2 separate regions of the Homo sapiens genome follow, and region 1 is linked to region 2. The links are contacts of gene promoters, found by promoter capture Hi-C in blood cells and fetal thymus (Javierre and others, 2016). All regions are on one chromosome and are shown on one strand. Each heading gives the region's core, a stretch centred on a gene start or on the middle of the fragment in contact. The rest is flanking DNA. Distances are from core to core; before and after follow the strand shown.

Region 1 (3,917 bases), core at 1,071-3,570, 240 kb before region 2:
AAAGATAAATGGGTTTGAATTTACTGCTATTTGGGGTTACATTTGTTACTAATCTCCTTCCATAAAGTGAGGACTGGTTGTATAGATAGTAACTGAGGTTGTATATAAAGTAATTGAGGACTGGTTGTATAGATAGTATTAGCTAATTCCTTTGGCTAATTCTATCTACCTCCAGGGTTTGTTTTAGAGTGTCTGTAGCTGGGCTCAAATGGGAGCTCTTCCAGAATGTACTGCCAAATGTCCTTTTCTTTGCAGCTGCGGAAACAGACAGGTGCTCGGATTGATGTGGACACAGAGGATGTAGGCGATGAGCGAGTGCTGCTTATCAGTGGTTTTCCTGTTCAGGTGTGCAAGGCCAAAGCAGCAATCCATCAGATCCTGACAGAGAATACCCCAGTGTCTGAGCAGCTTTCAGTTCCCCAGAGATCTGTGGGCAGAATCATAGGTACCACTGGATGGCTTCCTCTATTGTTTCCTTTATTCTTTACCTTTGCCCCTCTTTCACACCTTCCCAGGGTTTTTTCTGGCCTAGTTCCCCTTCACCATGTGAGGGGAAAAAAAGGGACATTGAGACCAGAGGTTTACTGTTTGTAGAACTGGTGGTAAAACCAAACCTGTTTCCTCAAGAAGTTGTATGATCTGAACCTTACAAATTGATTCTTTAAGGGTTCTAGTAGATGTATTATATTTACCTTATAATTGATTTTTAAAGGGAAGCTTGGGATGCTCATGTTATCTCAAGTCTTTCAAGACAGTGCTCTAGAGGGTACCTTTTATGCTTTCCCCTAGAGCATTGCTTAGTGCTGCTGTTAGAGGCAGAGAAATGTCCTGTCCTTGATCCGGTGTTCTGACACACTATGTAGCATATCTTCTTGTGACCTGATATGGCCATGCTGAGTGGTCAAAATGAAAATGACATGAAGTTAGCCAAAGTGTAGAGTTTAAATAAAATGGAAAAAGGAAAGAATATGGTATTCTCCTTTTCACAGTAATGATTTCAGTAGCTCCTGATTTCCATTCAACATCTTGTATTTTGTTCACTTTAGAAATGAGAACTGATTCTCTTCTCCTAGTATATACAAAACAGTGATTTCTCCAGTAGCTAAGGTTGGCCAGGAGGGAAGGGCAGGTTTTTATATATTGTTTAATGTAGGGAGAGGCGGCGAGACAATTCGTTCTATCTGTAAGGCATCTGGAGCCAAAATTACCTGTGACAAAGAATCAGAAGGGACATTACTACTATCAAGACTTATAAAAATCTCAGGAACACAGAAGGAAGTGGCAGCAGCCAAGGCAAGTAGCTAATAGACTTGAATTATACCTGAGCATGAGAAGATCCTTTTACTCTATCCCAGGTCAGAATATCATCCTTTCTCTTGTTTTCCACAGCATTTGATACTGGAGAAAGTTTCAGAAGATGAAGAACTTCGGAAGAGAATTGCTCATTCTGCAGAAACCAGGGTCCCACGCAAACAGCCAATCAGTGTGAGAAGAGAAGACATGACAGAGCCAGGTGGAGCTGGAGAGCCAGCATTATGGAAAAACACCAGTTCTAGCATGGAGCCGACTGCACCCCTGGTGACTCCTCCACCCAAAGGAGGAGGCGACATGGCTGTGGTAGTGTCAAAGGAAGGTTCCTGGGAGAAACCTAGTGATGACAGCTTTCAGAAGTCTGAAGCCCAGGCCATCCCAGAGATGCCCATGTTTGAAAGTATGTAACAAAGAGGGAGCCCATTAATCATTGAAGATAGAAATACTGGCTTAGATATTGGAGAGATTAGAAGGAATGCCTTCTCAGTCTGAGCAGCCAGTATAATATGGCTGGGGTCAGGACAGAAGATTCGGTAAGATATTTTGAAGATGGGATGGAGGTAGAATCCACACCAACAGTTGCTGGACAGTTTGAGGGTGCAGATGTTGATCACTGAAAATGATTTATGCAGGTATAAGATTCTGCTCCTAATTGTAGGAGAGAACTTGGTGCCTCTTCCACTCTGAAGCAAAGTTGATGAAAGTCTTCTTCCTTTTCCAAAACCCAACCTGAACTACTTCTTTCTTGAGACAGACTATATTGAGACAAGTTGTTACCAGCAAAAGATAGATACATGACCTTTATTAACAAAAATGAATTAACCAAGAGGATATTTGTAGTTTATTATTTACCCCAAACTTTCTGTGTCTGGGTACCCTCTGAGTAGGCCTATAATTCCTGCCTTCACTGTATGCATTTTATGTAAGCTAGCAGACCTATGTGGTGAGAATGCACAGGAGCTTGGAGGTATAAATAGACAGGGTGGGAAAGAGAGAGCTCCTTTCGCCATGTTTTACCAGCCCGCTCTGTTATAACCTCTTAGGTTATATTCTTTAATTTCCAACCTTTTAGGTTAGTTTCTGTAACAGAACAAATGAGTCTGGGATAAAGTCCTCAAAGTACTTCAAATGGTAATTGTTTTGTTTTTGTAACGGCTTAACAAATAACCTAGGTTTTCTGTTTAAAAAAAAAAGAAATACTGGCTTAGGGCATGGTGGCGCAACCTGTGGTTCCAACTACTTGGGAGGCTGAAATGGGAGAATCACATGAGCCCAGGAAGTCGAGGCTACAGTGAGCTGGGATTGCACCGTTGCACTCCAGCCTGGGTGACAGTGAGATCCTGTCTCAAAAAAAAAAAAAAAAAATTAACTATTTTTTTAAAAAGAAATACTGGCTTAGATTACCCAAAATAGGAAGCAATAAAAAGTCTTTTTTCATGAATACACTTATGTCTATCATCACAGATATTCCTTACTGGTAATAATATTTTACTTGAATTAATACTAAACATAAATATTTTTCTAAATATAAAACAGCTGATGGAAATGGCAAAATAATGCTGACACAGGAAACAAATGAGTAATACATCAAATAATTGGATTTACATGATATTGTTCCTCTAGACATACTTTTTTTTTTGAGACAGAGTCTTCCTCTGTCTCCCAGGCTGGAGTGCAATGGTGCATTCTCGGCTCACTGCAACCTCCGCCTCCCAGGTTCGAGTGATTCTCATGCCTCAGCCTCCCGAGTAGATGAGACCACAGGTGCACACCACCACATCCGACTGATTTTTGTATTTTTTAGTAGAGATGGGGTTTCACCATGTTGGACAGGCTGGACTCGAACTCCTGGCCTCAAATGATCCACCCACCTTGGCCTCCCAAAGTGCTGGGATTACAGGCATGAGCCACCATGCCCAGCCTAGACATACTTTATCAACAAGTAAAATTCTCAGCCAGATTTTATATTGCCTTTTTCATTACTGTTTTTAAAAATCATCACTATTGAAAAGGCTGTGAGCTTTCTCTTCTGTACATAGGTTTTGGCGTGGGCAAAGAGGACCTGGATTCCCAAGAAGCTCACAGACTTGTCCAGGGTCATGTAAAGAGTCAGTGGTAGAATGGGATCTGGAACAGGTCCATGTCCGTCACTGTCCATGTAAAGATTGCTGTCCATATACCTTTTTACTGATCCATGCTGTAGCTAGCATATGGAGGTTTACCTTCTGTATAATTGGTGACCGATTTGACTATGTAGCACATGACAAAGAATGTAAGCTGTTATTACTCAGTTACATGGAAAGGTACAAAGGATAGCTTAGTATCTTTCTTTAGGATATTCTTGTTTGATTCATCCAGTTGCCTCTCCTGCCATTTTAAAATGGTAACAGCCATTGGTATTTGTACCTCTCACTACCCTGGTTAGTCTCTTCATTCCAACCAGAGATGGGTCTGATGTGGCCACCATCCTTATCTCTGTGTTCAGTCCCCAGTCCTGACTTCAGTTTTCATGCTGATGAGTACCTAGAAGTCTACGTTTCTGCTTCTGAGCACCCTAACCACTTCTGGATCCAGATCGTTGGCTCCCGCAGCCTGCAATTGGATAA
Region 2 (3,884 bases), core at 913-3,412:
TGCTTGAGCCCAGGAGTTCGAGACTAGCCTGGGCAACATGGTGAAATCCCATCTCTACCAACAGAAAAAAAAAAAAAAAATTTTAGTCAGGTGTGGTGGCATGTGCCTACAGTCTCAGCTACTTGGGGAGACTGAGGTAGGAGGATCTACTGAAACCAGGAGGTGGAGGTTGCAGTGAGCTGAGATCATGCCATTGCACTCCAGCCTGGGCAACAGAGCAAGGCCCTGTCTCAAAAAAAGAGAAAAGAAAAGAGAAAAGAAAAGAAAGGAAGAAAGAAAAAAAATAGTAGAGGTTAATGATTCATTAACACTGCCAGTGCCAACTTGGTCTTAGACTTCTTTCCGGATCTCTTTTCTATATAGCAAGCAAGCAAAAAGCAGCCCAAACATCCCTCTCCTTTATTTATCTCATACCCTTTTCCCTCAACTATTCCAAAAGAGAGAGCAAGAGCATGGAAGAGAAGCTATAGGTGGTGTGCATCTGAAGTCCCAGCTACTCAGGAGGCTGAGGCAGAAGGATTGAGGCCAGGAGTTCAAGGCTGTGGTGTGCTATGATTGCACCCGTGAAGAGCCACTGTACTGCAGCTCCGGCAACATAGCAAGACACTCGTCGCTTAAAAACAAAGAGCAGGGAGTAGGACTTGTGGCTGACACATAATGGATAGATTTCTTCCATCTCTTCAGAGTCTCATAGCTGGGGATGTGGCAGGCTACAGAAGAATGGGGTTTGGGCAACTGGGGTTGGCCAATAGCAACATCTGTATTTTAATGTGGCAAAAACACTCATAGCCCAGGCAGAAATGGAGAGGGGACTGGGAAAAGAACTAAATGACCATCTGTATTCTAAACCTGAAATGAGTTTGAAGAAGAGCCATAATCTAGCTGCAGTTGGGTTAGCTCTACCTCAAGAGCAGGATGAGGCAGGCAGAGAGTAAGGGAGTCAGATGTGGGAGGGGGGATGATACACAAGTTCCCCATCACCTTAGTTTTCATTTCACTCCCACCCACAATAGCTTGGAAATTGATGAAATAGTACACACCTAATCTGGGTTAAGTTCCCCAAAAGAGCCTAGAAACACTCAGCCACAAATTACCCTCCTCAGCCTCTGGAGAGGAAAAACCATATGGTCAGCTAGGGTGGGGAGAACTGGGACTGGGAGCCAGAGAAAGAGGAGAGAGGGGTAGACCAGCCTGCACTGGAGAACGCCCCCTTTCTCCGCAACCCTCTCCCCGTCCAGAAGCCTTCGCTTGGGTCACTTCCCTCCCCTTCTCGGCCCGGGTTCTGCATCCCCTTCCTCCACTATCCCAGGGCCTGGCGGCTGGAGACGGAAGCAAAACTAACACACCGTCCCAGGAAGCTATCGGCAGGCAGATAGAGGGAGGAAAACAAGAGAACTACAAGGGGGAAGAAGGAGAAATCCAAGACAAGAGGTGACCCCCGGGCGGAAAGCCCTATCCCTTAGCGAAAGGTAGAGTCCCTAGCCAATCTCGGAATAGTTTGAGTCCTACCGTCCCCTACTTGCCCCCCGCCCTCCAGTCCAAGCCCTGTAATTTACTCTACCATTTTTCTTGTTACTGATCATCCAAAGCACCATGATGAAATTCTTTGGAGGGCCTCGGAGGTCACCAGGACCCTCGACCCACGGGAAAGCCTAAGCCTCCTCGGCAGGACACAACGTCCAAAGGCGCTCAGGGACCCAGTCGCTTGAGCTCATTCTCTTATGACCCAATGTGGCTGCCCAAAAGACGCCTGAGACCCGCGGCCCAAGCACGGGCTCGCCGGCGCCGAGTCCCAGGCAGGAGCCGCAGTGTCCTACCAAAGGGCAGGGACGCCCCGAACCCTCCAGCCTCAAAGGAGTCTTCACCCCGCGACTCCCACTGCCCGTCGCAGGCAAAAGAATAAAAAGAGAGAAGCGCCGCGCAGGGCTGACCGCGCGAGCCGGGCACCAGGTGATGTCAGCCAACACGGCGCGGGGCACGGAAGGGGCGGACTTAGAAACCGGGAATACAAAACGGAGAAGACAGCGAGAGCGCTTTTTCTTACCGCCGCCTGGTCCTCTGGGTGCACGTCCACCAGGGTACACCAGTTCCGCGTCCCGTTCATCTTCCCTCGGGGTCGCAGCACACACGCCACTTGTCCACCCCGCTGTCTGGCTCCAACTGGGCGGGCGCGCGCGGAACCGCCCCCTTGTATAGGCCCATCAGGGGCGGGGCTGAAGATAGGCCGCGCCCCCAGTTCGCGGTTTCGCAGAGAACTAACGATAGGCGAGGAGGTGAGGTGGGCGGAGCCAATGGGTCTGGGACATGCCCCATCGGTGCTCGCATAGATTTACACAAAGGTGGGGCTTGGGAGCGACATGGGGCTGCTTTAACTGAACAGCTTTATCTGGAGTATGTGGTTGCACATTCTTCATTAATCTTGTCGCTTTCCATCTTTCCAAGATCAGTGTTGGTCAGAGGGAATCACCCTGCCTGCTCCTAGTGGATGAGGAGTTGGAACCTGCAAAAGCTTCCTTCCATACATGCTCCTCTCCCTATACGTAAGCCACCTGTAGGCTTTGTGGAGCTGAGTAAACCTTTCCTCCACCGCAGAAAGGCAGGCACCAAGGTCCAGCTCACTCAGACTGGCCTAAGCCAGTCTGGCAGGTGCACTTCCTTGGCAAGAGGCCCAGGAGGCCCAGTCAGCTTAGGCTCTGGGTGGGGCTTGTTTTGCAGAAGCTCTTTTACTGACGCTGCCCTTATATAGTTGGGAGAGGCGGGACACATTGCCTTAAAAGGAATTTGTGTTCGTGAGAAAGGATGAGCCTTGACTTTTCCAGTTGCATTTTCTCCCCAAGCCTAGGCTGGGATCTTGAGGGCCTAGAAGAGAGGGTTGGCCAAGCAGGACCCTGGAGCTTCGTCCCCGCCCAGCTGCTCTTGGCAGATGGCTTCTTCACTTGGCTGTGGTCCACAGAGACAGCAGACAGAATACTTTAGGAGGAGGTCTGACCCACTCCTGAAGGGATAGTACTCCTATACCTGGCAATAGGCTCTAGTGAAGGGCCAGCTCCCTCTTCAAGGCAACACTAGGGCAGGAACAGCAGAAATGTCCCTACCTCCCAGTTAGGGACTGGGTCCTATGTCAGTTAGGAATGAATGAGGATTTTTCTACCTGGGAAGTGAATGCTGGGGTTATCACTATGACCCAAGGGAATAAAACCCAGTTCTGGTCTGTTCTACTCTAACCCTCAAAAAGGCATTTACTGCTGGCCAGGCGCAGTGGCTTATGCCTGTAATCCCACCACTTTGGGAGGCCGAGGTGGGCGGATCACAAGGTCAGGAGTTTGAGACCAGCCTGACCAACACAGTGAAACGCCATCTCTACTAAAAATACAAAAATTAGCTGGGTGTGGAGGCACGCGCCTGTAATCCCAGCTACTCAGGAGGCTGAGGCAGGAGAATCGCTTGAACCCGGGAGGCAGAGGTTGCAGTGAGCTGAGATCATGCCATTACACTCCAGCCTGGGTGACAGAGTGAGACTCCGTCTCAAAAAAAAAAAAAAAAAAAAGGCATTTACTGTCCTTGTTCTTCCCAGAAGGTTGTTCAGGAGAGAAGAGAATGGGGCTGCTATAAACATCTCCAGGTTTCGTAGGTCCCATCTGCTCTGTTCTAAAGGGCCTCTGAAAAGTCAGGTGAAGAAAACTCCAGCTTCGGCTCCTAAGCTGTACAGTTAATATGACTTCATAAAATCTGGACCTCCAAATATGCCAAGAAAAAGAATGAGAAGACAAACCAAGGATTTCAATATAAATGTGTAATTTTAATATTTAATTTAAAATAAAACCAAGGCTGGATTGGATTGGGAAAGAACGTTTGATTTGCAGAAGAATATAGGAATTTTTTTA

Evidence for each region. Contacts are between HindIII fragments. The CHiCAGO score rates a contact against its expected background, and 5 or more counts as called.
Region 1: a fragment that was not itself captured here is called in contact with the fragment with the promoter of TUFT1 in region 2 in 4 of 17 cell types (M1 macrophages, M0 macrophages, erythroblasts and 1 more); the score reaches 9.1 in M1 macrophages.

The regions. Positions count from the first base shown.
Region 1 is chr1:151,776,479-151,780,395 of GRCh38, reverse strand. TDRKH (tudor and KH domain containing) reads left to right here. Exons shown (of 13, transcript NM_001083965.2): 4 at 256-445; 5 at 1,154-1,293; 6 at 1,390-1,711; 7 at 3,797-3,917. It also overlaps the pseudogene LOC100270670. Among named protein-coding and RNA genes, the nearest start is that of OAZ3, 12 kb to the right of the region's middle. The HindIII fragment of the contact is 3,201 bases long and covers 720-3,917 here.
Region 2 is chr1:151,538,587-151,542,470 of GRCh38, reverse strand. TUFT1 (tuftelin 1) reads right to left here and starts at 2,162. Exons shown (of 13, transcript NM_020127.3): 1 at 2,045-2,162. The coding sequence starts at 2,104. It overlaps CGN (cingulin), which reads right to left. Exons shown (of 21, transcript NM_020770.3): 21 at 3,779-3,884. RefSeq lists enhancers at 1,355-1,869, 1,870-2,385, 2,901-3,417. The HindIII fragment of the contact is 3,648 bases long and covers 1-2,511 here.